5 separate regions of the Homo sapiens genome follow, and all the other regions are linked to region 4. The links are contacts of gene promoters, found by promoter capture Hi-C in blood cells and fetal thymus (Javierre and others, 2016). All regions are on one chromosome and are shown on one strand. Each heading gives the region's core, a stretch centred on a gene start or on the middle of the fragment in contact. The rest is flanking DNA. Distances are from core to core; before and after follow the strand shown.

Evidence for each region. Contacts are between HindIII fragments. The CHiCAGO score rates a contact against its expected background, and 5 or more counts as called.
Region 1: a fragment that was not itself captured here is called in contact with the fragment with the promoter of LPAR2 in region 4 in 10 of 17 cell types (naive CD4 T cells, total CD4 T cells, M2 macrophages and 7 more); the score reaches 11.4 in naive CD4 T cells.
Region 2: a contact is called between a fragment that was not itself captured here and the fragment with the promoter of LPAR2 in region 4, in 2 of 17 cell types (total B cells and total CD4 T cells). The highest score is 6.1, in total B cells.
Region 3: a fragment that was not itself captured here is called in contact with the fragment with the promoter of LPAR2 in region 4 in 2 of 17 cell types (naive B cells and total B cells); the score reaches 6.6 in naive B cells.
Region 5: a fragment that was not itself captured here is called in contact with the fragment with the promoter of LPAR2 in region 4 in 1 of 17 cell types (total CD4 T cells); the score reaches 5.4 in total CD4 T cells.

What each region holds. Positions count from the first base shown.
Region 1 is chr19:19,961,420-19,964,119 of GRCh38, reverse strand. It overlaps the pseudogene BNIP3P12. Among named protein-coding and RNA genes, the nearest start is that of ZNF93, 62 kb to the right of the region's middle. The HindIII fragment of the contact is 4,095 bases long and covers 1-2,700 here.
Region 2 is chr19:19,910,002-19,912,701 of GRCh38, reverse strand. All of the region lies in intron 1 of ZNF93 (zinc finger protein 93), which reads right to left. Among named protein-coding and RNA genes, the nearest start is that of ZNF93, 10 kb to the right of the region's middle. The HindIII fragment of the contact is 1,625 bases long and covers 473-2,097 here.
Region 3 is chr19:19,937,888-19,940,587 of GRCh38, reverse strand. It overlaps LOC124904665 (a long non-coding RNA gene), which reads left to right. Exons shown (of 3, transcript XR_007067170.1): 1 at 1-853; 2 at 926-1,022; 3 at 1,905-2,070. Among named protein-coding and RNA genes, the nearest start is that of ZNF93, 38 kb to the right of the region's middle. The HindIII fragment of the contact is 1,208 bases long and covers 792-1,999 here.
Region 4 is chr19:19,626,783-19,629,482 of GRCh38, reverse strand. It overlaps LPAR2 (lysophosphatidic acid receptor 2), which reads left to right and starts at 1,263. Exons shown (of 3, transcript NM_001395660.1): 1 at 1,263-1,391; 2 at 2,199-2,700. The coding sequence starts at 2,208. GMIP (GEM interacting protein) reads left to right here. Exons shown (of 21, transcript NM_016573.4): 21 at 1-7. RefSeq lists silencers at 513-642, 1,013-1,512 and an enhancer at 1-875. The HindIII fragment of the contact is 41,803 bases long and covers 1-2,700 here.
Region 5 is chr19:19,888,407-19,891,106 of GRCh38, reverse strand. The region is part of intron 3 of ZNF253 (zinc finger protein 253); the gene reads right to left. Among named protein-coding and RNA genes, the nearest start is that of ZNF93, 11 kb to the left of the region's middle. The HindIII fragment of the contact is 211 bases long and covers 1,177-1,387 here.

The sequences.
Region 1 (2,700 bases), core at 54-2,553, 330 kb before region 4:
AGAGATATACACACAACATTCAGTTTGCAGTAACGTGCAAACCCCTCCTTGGGCTGCGGTAAGCATTTTTAATGCCATTTGATTTTGCAACACAATAGTACGCAGCTGAGCAAATTCATCTGATAACAACACAAGTTCAGTGCTACTATCATTAAGAGCTTTTTCTACATGTAAGGTAAATATTTTAATGTGTTGGTGAAGGAGGAATGTACTGGTGGCAGGGGAGAATACTGTGATAGGGTACCACCACCAGGGAGACCAGCACATTTGTAACCAGTGGTGTTTGTAAGCATCTAGATTACTGGGGAAGGGAATATTATCCCGGATAGTGAATGGAATTAATGTCCACCCTCAAGTGCATCTTCCCATCCAATGCAGGGACAGTATTGCAACCCATAGGATCTGCATACCCAGAGGGCCCCCCAGGGGACAGCAATGGAGCTACTGTAATCATAGTGTACTAATGTGTTATTAAAATAGGAAAGAGATTGTGGTTCATTGGGGGGCAGTGTTGTTGATTTGGAGTATGTGTTGACAAATGTCTGAAGAAACCCCAAAGAAACATTAGAGGAGCCATTTAAGGCCTCCAGAAAAAGCGAAGCCTGTATGGAATCCAGCCACCAGCACAGCAGGTTTTCAGTGTATATTGTTCCAGGATTATTGGGCAAGATATCAAGACTTTTGATGCAAGGTGAGGGTGGAGTTCATCTTTTGTCTGACCTGGCAAAGATAGATTGCTTAGTGTGGTGAAAGGAAGCCCAGGTTGGATTGCAAGTGTTGTTGTTGTTGTGGCCCTACTGGTAACAATATAGCCATTCAGAAATGTTGTCAGGGACGATTCTTCAAGATAGCCCATCCCAGGCAGCCTCCGGCAACTCAACATATAGCCAACATTGACTGTGGATGGCTTCAGTTGCAGCGGTGGCTACCCAGGTGATGAATTTATTCTTGGCTTCAGACACAAAGACACAGGTGCTGACCATTAGTAGATAGGTTATTCCCTGTAATAACAAAAATGGAGTGGAACATGATTTATTTTTCATCTTTAGGAAATTGTACTATGCCTTCATTTCCCGCTTTCATAGCTACAAGGTCACCAGCCTTAGGGTCAAGATGTGATGGACGCTGTATGCATATTTTGGCTCCAGGATTTAAGCTACCTGTACCAGGGGATCTGAATCCCCCAGTTCTGTATGTAGACTCTGTTGGGGCAGAGATTTCCTCAGGAGTTAATTGTTGACAAGGGTACCACTAAAAATTGAGTAACCAGCATCTAGTTTTATAGCAAAAGAATCTGGAGTGTTATTGTATAAAATGACCTTTAACTCTCCCTGGTAATCACTATCAATTACACCACCATACACTATAATGCCTCTCTTTGCAAGGCTTGAACACATTGTAATCTATTCATCCACATTCAAGTTTACTGTTATGGTGGAAATTGTGGCCTGTTTTTCTTCCTGCTGATTAAATAGCCTGTCAAGAGAAAGCAGAGATGCATGGGCATCAACATGGAAAACAGGGCTGCACATGGTGGTGAAGGGGGCCTGCCCCTCCACACCTGTGGGTGTTTCTCACAAGGTGGAGATGAGAGACTGAGAAAAGAAATAAGACACAGAGACAAAGTATAGAGGAAGAAAGGTGGACCCAGGGGACCGGCGCTCAGCATACGGAGGACCCGCACCCGGCACTGGTCTCTAAGTTCCCTCAGTATTTATTGATCACTATCTCTTTCATCTCAGTGAGGGGGATGTGGTACGACTACAGGGTAATGGTGGGGAGAGGGTCAGCAGGAAAACATGTGAGCAAAGGACTTTGTGTCATAAATAAGTTTAAGGAAAGGTGCTGTGCCTTGATGTGCACGTAGGACAGATTTATGTTTGACTTTACACAAACATCTCAGTGTCGTAAAGAGCAGTATTGTCGCCAGCATGTCTCACCTCCAGCCATAAGGTGATTTTCTCCTATCTCAGTAAATAGAATGTATGATCAGGTTTTACACCGAGACATTCCATTCCCAGCGATGAGCAGGAGACAGATACCTTCCTCTTATCTCAACTGCAAAGAGGCCTTCCTCTTTCACTAATCCTCCTCAGCACAGACCCTTTATGGGTGTCGGGCTGGGGGATGGTCAGGTCTTTCCCTTCCCATGAGGCCATATCTCAGGCTGTCTCAGTGGGGGGAAACCTTGGACGATACCCAGGCTTTCTTGGGCATGAGGTCCCTGCGGCTTTCCGCAGTGCATTGTGTCCCTGGGTACGGGAGACTGGAGAATGGCGATGACTTTTACCAAGCATACTGTCTGCAAAGACATTTTTAACAAAGCACATCCTGTACAGCCCTAAATACATTAAATCTTGAGTCAATACAGCACATGTTTCTGCGGGCACAGGGTTGGGGCTGGGGTTACAGATTAACAGTATCTTAAGACAGAAGAATTTTTCTTAGTACAGATCAAAATGGAGTTTCTTATGTCTTCCTTTTTCTACATAGACACAGTAACAGTCTGATCTCTCTTTCTTTCCCCCACATGGTGGCTGACGCCTGTAATCCCAGCACTTTGGGAGGCTGAGGTGGGCGGATCACGAGATCAGGAGATCGAGACCATCCTGGCCAACATGGTGAAACCTTGTTGAAACAGTGATAACAGTGAAACAGTGATAATGGCAGTGTGCAATGGATTGAGATATCTTCCAAGTA
Region 2 (2,700 bases), core at 36-2,535, 280 kb before region 4:
ATTGTATAGAATAAAAGCTAAATATAGACAGATGAAAGAGATACAGAAGAGTTTAATGTAGTCTAGAGAAAATTTCATTCTGTTTATATTTACTTTTTTGACTTGTGCAGCAACTACTGGATCTGCAGGAATAGAAAACAAGTTGCTAAATACAATGTCTCTGCAAGCACTGGTTTTAATAAAAAATTTAAAAACAAACACCTTACAAAACATACTTTTTTTCCCGATTTATCTGCTTTTGAATTTCAGGAAATTGTGAGCACCAGCTCTAGAAAGGCAGCAGGATTCAGCAGCCAAAACTCTGATCTCCTTTAATGAGTTCTGTGAGGCAATACTCCAGGGTAGGTTCAGACCTAACTAAGGTCTCCAAAAAGGATGAATCTGAACACGTCTGGGGCAGGGTGAGAACCCTATGTAGAATTCTGTTCTCTATGCAACTAGGAAACTTCCAGTTTTGTTTTGTTTCTAAGCTTACCTAAAAGAAACTTAAATCCCAGAGTTTCTGTAGTTTTTATCTTTTCTAGTCACTGCCCTGACAACTTTATACTATATACTAGTATGCAACTTAAACAAATCCCTTAAGGTTTTCTAGGGTAATTTTATTAGAAAATAAATATCTACAGTTAGCAAGGTAAAAGAAATAGAAAATATACGGCCAAGCGCGGTGGGTCATGCTTGTAATCTCAAGACTTTGGGAGACCAAGGCGGGTGCAGAACGAGGTCAAGCAGTTAAAGACCAGCCTGATCCAGATGATGAAACCCCGCCTCTAGTAAAAATACAAAAATTAGCTAGGTGCAGTGGCAGGCAACTGTAATCCCAGCTACTCGGGAGGCTGAGAAGGGAAAGTCACCTGAACCCGGGCGGCAGAGTTTACAGTGAGCCGAGATCGTGCCACTGCAAGCCAGACCAGGTGACAGAGTGAAACACCATCTCAAAAAAAAAAAAGAATTTATAACAATTATTTTGTTCATAAATCTCCCTTCAGGTGTAGACATCAGAAGTCACAACAATATAAAGAAAGTGGTCTAAAGCCCAAGATTTTTAACACATCTATTTATTATACCAACCATATGATGCACACTTCAATTACTTATCCAGTAGCTAGTCTAGACTAAAAGTTTCTGGATTGTAGGAACTATGACTGCTTCATGTATTTTTTTAATGCCCATATGAAGTGGAAGGAGCTAGTTTATCTATCTGGGTCTCCAGATCTTCTCCTTATTATCCAAGTACCAGGAAACTGGAGAAGCTGTCATCGGGGTACCAACCAAAGATATCTCTTGTATGAGGGAATGAACAAACACAGGATGACTCATTTCTCTTACACTGAGACAGAAGCAGAATTAACCACTCTTGTCAGCCTGACAAAATTCTGCTCTGGACATCCTCAAATGCCTCAAAGACACCTGGGTGATTGTGAGAGATTCCCAGTGACCCAGGCCTCATGGCCCAATGATAAGCCAGGCTGGAGAGACTCAGGCTAACTCTGAATAGAAAATGGAACTGCCCTGGTGGAGCTCCAGAACCTGGATCACCCATTCTGATTTGCTAGCTCTTGGGTAAGAGAAAGATCAAAAATACTCTACTCTAGTATTACATTTTACAGCTAAATATAATTGTGGTCATGGCTCTGGATACTTTGTGGCCCCGATCTCTCACTCCTAAGATGCTTATTTACACTTACAGATTCTGCCATCTGAGTCTATTTCTCCTGGAGCCCCTCACATAACTGTAGCAGGTCAATGAACAAGATGTGAAAATCTCAAAGAGCCACACTCCCAAATGGGGGCTGTAAGATGTCTATGTTTACATTCACAATGCAGAAAATGACTTTTGTTCATTTTCTGTACATTCTCAATCCAAGTTCTGGTCCTTTCTTGTAAATCCCAGGCAGAGGCCAGACCTTATCTGCAGATTCCAGGTAGGATCCACCTGGCTCTGCATCCTTTGGTGTTACAGCAAGTGGAATACAATCAAAGGAGAGATCCCCTCATAGAGACTACTCTAGCACATTCTAAATGGTAAGTCTACATGAAAAAAAAAAAAAAAAGCTGAAAGAACATGAATATAAGTAGATAGTTTACTTGGGTCAAGCTTAAGGATTATAACCTGGGAGCAAAGATTCAAGTTGCCTGGAATCTGCATTTTGATTACCAGCAGTTACAAGACAATTTGTAAAGACAACAAGACAGGGACAGAGAGTGGGCTGATACAAAGTTGATTGTCAGAAATTTTTATTTATTTACAGAAATAACATCGATTATTGATTACATATATATTATTATGGTTTAGGGTATGGGATATAGTGTCTAATGTGGCATTATTAGTTTAATTTATAATTACTTGTGGCAATAGTGAACAGTTTCAAGAGATGAATACATAGTTCAAAGGGGGGAGAAAGACATAACAGTACTTTCATTTTAATGTCTGAGTTTGATAACCAAAGGGACTTGCATTTCTTAGGTAAGTTTTTTTTTCCCCCAAATCTCAAGACCTGGATTCAAAATTTGGAGCTTCAAGTTTAGGGCCTGAACGACTGGAGTAGCCACAGGTGTTTACCTGTACATTTGTGAGCATTTAGCAAGAGGAGGAAGGGGAAAGTGGAGATTCTCATGTCTCTATGTCTACTCAGCACACACATGTTACTCTGATTGGGTTTCTGGGCTCCATAGTTTCTGAATCAGTTTCAAATCTGAAGA
Region 3 (2,700 bases), core at 146-2,645, 310 kb before region 4:
ACAGAAGAATAAAAATGCTGGGCCCTTTATCTAAATCCTGAAAATTCCTAAACCCTTAGTACTAGCTCCCAGGGTATTATGAGAATTAAATCACATAATGTGTTATGCCCAGCACAGTGCTCTGTATCATACTCTTGAGCACATAGTACTTGCTTAATAAACATTGCAGTAGTACATGTGTACATGTTGTTTTTTAAACCCAGACTTATTCAAACATTGCTGCCTTCTGTTTCCTCTATAAACTTAAAGAGCCAGCAAAGAATATAAAACTTTAGGATGGAGATGGGTTGTCCTTATTTGCACGACAAGTATTTGGTTGTGAGAAGGGTGTTAAGTGTAAGGGACCCTGTGCTCTGCCTGCTTTCTCTAATGCTAATAATGAGCCAAGGGGGAGCAACATCAGCATTGACAGGAGACTTGTTTAAAACACTCTTTCATAAACCCTTTTCAAACCTGCAGAATCACCTTACATAATGTGGGACCAAAATTACCAAGTGATTTATACTTGTGCCCTCCCCACAGCTTCTGTTTATTGTTCTGGGTGGAAGGATCCATGTTGTTTTAATGAAGGGCCTCATGTGACTCTAAGGTGAGGCCAGAATCAAGTATGAAGGCTTCAAAATACATTTTCGAGAGTTAAGTTCCACCTTTGCACTAAAGGGTGGTCACAGGGCCTGTTCTGTTTGGGTTTGGTAGGGACAGGTCAGTGTGGTGCATATTTCCATTACTGTAGCAGAAATTGCTGGAGTCTCTGGCAGGGGAGGGCACCTGAGGACAGGAAAGGAGAAGCTTATATTTTTGTCTTCATGGAGCAGCTCATTATTCCTGAATCTATTCTGTTTAAAAGACAGCAGTAAGTGAATTTTTCTTTTTCTGCCAGTTGATGTCATACTAGCAGGTAAATGTGGTACTGACACCTTTAAAGGCATATTCTCCATATGCAGGTGTAACTTGTCCAGAGAATCTCATCTGAGAAGGAATTCCAGAGGAGGAGGAGAAAGAAAAAAATGGCTTTTCTTCAGGTAAACATGTGTCAGATGAAGAGCTGTGTCCACTCTGCCTCCTGGACTGCCATGCGTTTAGTACTCACAAACCTTTACTTCTCTACTTGTGTTTTTCCTCCCTAAGGAGTTTGGTTTAACTACTTCTTAAAATTCTTATGATAGTCAAGGGTCTCTGGAAAACGTTTCTGTCCTATGTCCCACAGACTTCTCTACATTCTGTACGTCATAGCTTCTTATATGCCATGCAGAATGCTCCGCAAGAATTTATGACCTGCAATATTAAAAATGTTCCCTTTGTGGCTGTTGAACATGGAAAGATGTGGATACTCAAGGTTTCTATTGGGGAAAACTGTGGCCCTTAGTAAAGATGGAGAACATGTAATGTTGAGGCTCCAGCTGTGTGTTCCATTAGCTCTATGCAGAAGAGGATTAAGAAAATGCTGATTTAAATGGAATGGCATTTATTACCCAGAAAGTTCTGAAAAAAATTATTAGGAGATACTTGCTCTCTAGGGTGCTAAATGAAGCCTAATTAAAATTCCTACTAAAAATTACAGAACATAGGAGTTACCTGTATTTTGAAGTTTGCATAAACTGTTGTTTATGGTTAAATTCAGACTAGTTTACTGTTTTGGGGAGGAATATTTCAACAGTGATGCTGTGTTCTTCTGTGTGCAGTAGCACATCATAAAAATTTGTCCTAGTGCAGTTAATGGTTAATGATTCACTTGGTGAAATAGCTGATTGATTTTTTTCACTGTAGAGATAACTATTTTTCTCTTCATAATTATCTTTATGCAGCTGCTCTACACAAGTGATCACATTTAATCTGGCAGTTCTCCTTTTATTTTTTCTACATATTTTTCTTTAGAAAATGAAGGCTCTTATCTTTGTTTACAGGCTAGAAAAACTGGGAAAACACAGGCTCTACCACTTACTGGATCTTTGACAAAATATCCTTATTAGGCCAAAAACGTTAGCATTACTGGTAAGCTTGTTAGAAATTCAAAAAATCAGCGGGGAGCCCTGGCTCATGCCTGTAATCACAGCATTTTGGGAGGCCAAGGCAGGCAGATCACCTGAGGTTGGGAGTTTGAGACCAGCCTGACCAACATGGAGAATACCCTGTCTCTACTAAAAATACAAAAATAGCTGGGCGTGGAGGCACATGCCTGTAATCTCAACTACTCAGGAGGCTGAGGCAGGAGAATTGCTTGAACCCAGGAGGGGGACACTGCCGTGAGCCAAGATGATGCCACTGCACAGAAGCCTGGGCAACAAGCATGAAACTCCGTCTCAAATAAAAAAGAAAAGGAAATAAATACGTAAATCAGACTTACTCCAGATCTTCTTGGAAAAAAAAAAAAACCTGCATAAGGTCTTCAGCTTATTGTACATAATAAATTTGAGAAATGCCTAAGTGAATGTCTTTTCCATCTGAAAAATATTCACAACTCATTCCGTATGATGTAAATATAGCACTCAAAAATGTACATGTTCGTGTTCATGCCCTTAATTTTATACTTTATTATCTAGAAAAATAAAATATATGAACTGTTGTTCTGGATCTTATGGTGCTTTTTTTTTTTTATCATAGTTAGAGAATAATATTTCTGTTTTGAAAATTATTTTATTGGATAATTTTAGTCAGTGCTATAAGTCAGAACCACTTCTCTTTACTCTCTCATTTCACCTT
Region 4 (2,700 bases), core at 14-2,513:
TCCTATATGCCCTTGGGTGCATCTCTGCTAGGGGAGAGGCCAGCATGGGTAGCACTCCTTGCCCCCATTTTACAGATTAGGGGAATCAAGGCCTCTTTTTTTTTTTTTTTTTTTTTTTTTTTTGAGACGGAGTTTTGCTCTGTCTCCAGGTTGGAGTGCAGTGGCACGATCTCCGCTCACTGCAACCTCCACCTCCCGGGTTCAAGCGATTCTCCTGCCTCAGCCTCCCGAGTAGCTGGGACTACAGGCGCCTGCCACCATGCCCGGCTAATTTTTTTGTATTTTTAGTAGAGACGGGGTTTCAGCATGTTGGCCAGGATGGTCTCGATCTCCTGATCTCGTGATCGTCCCGCATCGGCCTCCCAAAATGCAGGGATTACAGGCGTGAGCCACTGCGCCCGGCCTCAAGGCCTCCTTCTTGCATCATCAAACACCCTGCAGCACCTACGTAAAGGCAGTTGGAGCTGGGTCGCAGCACCCGGCTGAGTCACGCCAGCCCGGCCCTCCCGGAGCTCTGCGTCCCCGATCCGGTCCTGCATAATCAAATACAGTATAACAAAGTACCGATAACCGGGACAATGGGGCTGTGTGCTCCGGACCGTGGGAGCCCGGGGCCGCCGCAGGGAGGCCGAGGGAGGAAGCCACAGGGCAGGGCAGGGCAGGGCCGGGCTTTGCAGGGGGCAGCGCTGTCCCAGGGTGAGGGGTACGGGGGCGGGATTGCAAAACCCTAGCGTGCGCCCGATGATCAGCTGGGGCCGCAGAGGTGGGCCTCGCACAGGAGGCCGCGGCTCGCTGATACTGCGAGCTGGCAAAGCCGAAGCTGGGCGGGGGTCCGGGCGGTGGGAGCCAAGTCGGATCAGGGAGTGGCTTGTAACTCGGCGGCCGATTGGACACGAAGAAGAGAGCGGGGTGGGGCTGGGAGGGTTGGGGGTCCGGAGCGGGGGCGCGGACCCAAGACCACCTGGAGCTCCGCCCGGGCAGCGCGGGGTCACGGCGGGAATTTTCGGGTCGCCGAGTGACTCAGCCCCGCAGGCTCGAAACTGCGGGCGCATGAGGTGTGCAGGTACCGGGGTGGGGGTCCCGCGCCGGAAATAGGGGCGACTGAGGGGCCGCGAGGCGGGGAGGAAACAGGGGGGCTGCGGTTCCGGGCGACACCGCCCCCGACGCGGCCGTGGAGGCGGGGCTCCCCCAGGTGGCGGGGCGGGGCAGGGCTCCCCCAGGTGGTGGGGGCGGGGCGCCGGGGAGACCCCGCCTCCCGCGCCCTCTCAGCAACCCGCACAGGGCGCACCCGGACGCTCTACCGCTCCCGCCGCAGTCGCCGGGCCATGGGCCTCGAGCCCGCCCCGAACCCCCGCGAGCCCGCCTTGTCTGCGGCGTGACTGGAGGCCCAGGTGAGGCCTGCACGGACGGGAGGCGGGCGGGTGCGGGCCTGGGCCCGGGGGAAGGGCGCGGCACGTGCCTGCGGGGCCAGGACGCCGCCCTCTGATCCCTTAACCCCCTACCCCTTCCCCAGTCTGGAGACGCCTGGAGGCCCGGCCATCCATCCCTTCCCCAACCGCTGTCTTTGTCCCGGAGACCGCCAGTGTCCTCCGTCCCACCCGGAACAGCCTATTGCCCCGCCCGCTTGGGAAGCACTCGCGCCCAAATCCCGCCGACTAACTTCTGGGGCCGCCTCTCTGTCCACTCCGATCACCTCCACGCCTCGGCACCGCCCCCTCGCAGGGTTCTAGCAAGTGACCTCACCCTTGTGTGCACACGCTCCCGGGTCTCTGCTCCCTACACTGACTCCGGCACCAAAGTGATCCTCCCTCATCTCTTCCCGCAGCTCACACCCCTTTGTCTTTCCCTAACCCTCCTCTCCCCACAACCCAAACCGGGTCACACATTGGCGGCAGGTGGGCTGGGATTCGACCATAGATGGGTTTTGTTTCACTTCTGGTTCAAAAACCTATTGACTTGGGTGATGTCTTGCACACAGGTCTTATTAGTAGGTAAGAAACAGCTGCTCCTCCACCTCCACCCCAGCCCCATGGAGCTTGCTTTTTCCAGGCCACCGTAGTCCTCACCACTGCCACTTTGCTTCGAGGTATCTGAATTTGAGACCCTTGTCCTTCCTGCGCTGACCCTCCTCTGCAGCTGCCGCCCCTCCCTGTGTCCTTCCAAGAAGTGCCACATGCACTGATCTCTTGTGTCCCCAGATGGTCATCATGGGCCAGTGCTACTACAACGAGACCATCGGCTTCTTCTATAACAACAGTGGCAAAGAGCTCAGCTCCCACTGGCGGCCCAAGGATGTGGTCGTGGTGGCACTGGGGCTGACCGTCAGCGTGCTGGTGCTGCTGACCAATCTGCTGGTCATAGCAGCCATCGCCTCCAACCGCCGCTTCCACCAGCCCATCTACTACCTGCTCGGCAATCTGGCCGCGGCTGACCTCTTCGCGGGCGTGGCCTACCTCTTCCTCATGTTCCACACTGGTCCCCGCACAGCCCGACTTTCACTTGAGGGCTGGTTCCTGCGGCAGGGCTTGCTGGACACAAGCCTCACTGCGTCGGTGGCCACACTGCTGGCCATCGCCGTGGAGCGGCACCGCAGTGTGATGGCCGTGCAGCTGCACAGCCGCCTGCCCCGTGGCCGCGTGGTCATGCTCATTGTGGGCGTGTGGGTGGCTGCCCTGGGCCTGGGGCTGCTGCCTGCCCACT
Region 5 (2,700 bases), core at 33-2,532, 260 kb before region 4:
GCACTTTGGGAGGCTGAGGTGGGTGGATCATGAGGTCGGGAGTTCAAGACCAGCCTGGCCAAGATGGTGAAACCTTGTCTCTACTAAAAATACAAAAAATTAGCCAGACATGGTGGCGGGCACATTTAATCCCAGCTACTCGGAGGGCTGCGGCAGAGAATTGCTTGAACCAGGGAGGCAAAGACTGCAGTGAGCCAAGATTGCACCACTGCACTCCAGCCTGGGCAACAGAGTGAGACGCCATCTCAAAAAAAAAAAAAAAAAAAAAAAAAAATTAAATTGTTGGCCAGGCATGATGGCTAATGCCTGTAACCCCAGCACTTTGGTAAGGCAAGGCAGGTGGATCACCTAAGGTGAGGAGACTGAGACCAGCCTGACCAACATGGTGAAACCCCATCTCAACTAAAAATACAGAAAATTAGCCAGGCATGGTAACAGGTACCTGTAATCCTAGCTACCTGAAGGCTGAGGCAGGAGAATTGCTTCAACTGTGGAGACGGAGATTGTAGTGAGCTAAGATTTTTGCCACTGCACTCCAGCCTAGGTAAGAGAGTGAGACTCTGTCACACACACACACACACACACACACACACACACACACACACACAAATATAAATTGCCAACTCCTGGTTTCTTTTTTAAAAATAAGAAAAATATTGGCACATACATCTTTATTTCTGGCATCTATGAACTTTTTTAGACACCGGCTAATGTCTCCCATGACATAAAATGCTGAAACAGTGATATGTTAGAATGACAGTTTGAGTCTGCTGAGTCTAAAGGTAAATGTTACAGAAGCAGAGAAACTGCAGTAATCCAAACAGGAATGGCTGTAGCAAGTGATTACTGATTATTAGGAAGAAATATGAATAAGCCGATTTAACTAAACAATAAACACAAAATTTTAGACAAGACACATCCTAAAAACATGTTTGAGAAATTCCCAGAATCTCTAGCCAAAACAATTGATTTCAGACTACACAAGGACAAAACTATATTATAAAGATTGGCACAGGTAGCTTTTTGTTAATGCCTGAATCTCACTCAAAGATTACAATGTATACAAAATATTTGGGCAGCATGGCCCATCAAAAAAATTATAAAATTTTCAAAAGCAGCCATAAAAAGTGAATAAAGTAATTTTTAAAATTCAGAATAAATTGAACAGGCCAAGCTTGGAAGCTCATTCCTGTAATTCTAACACATTGGGAAGCCAAGGTAGGAAAATCACATGAGGTCAGGAGTTTGAGACCAGCCTGGCCAACATGGTGAAACCCTGTAACTACTAAAAATACAAAAATTAGCTGGGCGTGGTGGCATGTGCCTGTAATCCCAGCCACGTAGGAGACTGACACACGAGAACTGCTTGAACCCAAGATGGGAAGCTTGCAGTGAGTGACTGTACCACTGCTGGCCAGGCTGGGCAACAGAGCAAGCCTGTCTCAAAAAAAAAATAAAGTAGGACAGGAACAGTGGCTCATGCCTGTAATCCCAGCACTTTGGGAGGCTGGGGTGGGTGGATCATTTGAGGTCAGGAGTTCAAGATCAGCCTGGCCAACAGAGTGAAAGCCTATCTCTACTAAAAATACAAAAATCAGCCAAATGTGGCAGCATGCACCTGTAATCCCAGCTACTGGGAGGCTGAGGCAGGAGACTCACTTGAACCTGGGAGGGGTAGGTTACAGTGAGCCAAGATCATGCCACTGCACTCTAGCCTGGGCAACAGAGTGAGACTCTGTCTCAGAAAATAAATAAATTAATTAATTACATAAAAGAAATTGAATGATATTCAGTAAGTGAAATAGGAACACAGACGACTACTGAAGATCAGAAAAATGAGGATAAACAAGAAAAAATATTAAAATAGAAAAAAACAAAAATTATGGATATAAAAAATATAAAAATAACTTAAAAATTTCTTAAAAGAAAAAATAATGTAAACATGAAGAAGCTGAACAAACTAGGATACACAAAAAGATATTTATCACAAACACACCTATAAGCAAAATTTCAAAAATCACAGATAAGAAAAGAATTTTGGGTGCTGCAAGATAAAAATGATGTGTCATTTATAAGCATAGTCTTATAAGATAACCAGTGAATTTATCAAAAAAAATTTTTGCAGAAAATAATACCATCGGCAAAATTGTACTATCATATAAAAAGGAGTCCTTCCAAAATAACCAAATCCTAAGAAAGTATATTGGCACTGCATATGCCCTACCTATCAAAGATGCTGAAAGAAGTTTCTTCCACTGAAAATAACATAATACAAGAAAACAACACATGATCATATGAAAATACATAACTTTCTGGAGAAGATATGCACATACACAAAAATAGAATTCCTTACTTATTATCATAATGGCACAGAAAGCACTTTTAGTTATTCTCTAAAATGCAAAAGATGGAAGTAGAGGAATTATTATAAACATCTGTTAATGAATATATAACATAAGTAGAATTAGCAAAATCAATAACAAAGTTGAAGGCAGATGTAATGAAGAATGTTTGCATGCAACTGAAGTTAATTTTTTACTGCATTAAAGTATATTGTTGGATCTTTTAGAGGTTTTATGTAATCCCCTAGATACCACTAAGAAACTACCTGCCTAGATACACAAAAGAAAATAAGAAAAAAATTAAAAGCATATCAATACAAAAATAAAAAAAAAACACAAAAAGACAGAAAGAGAAAAA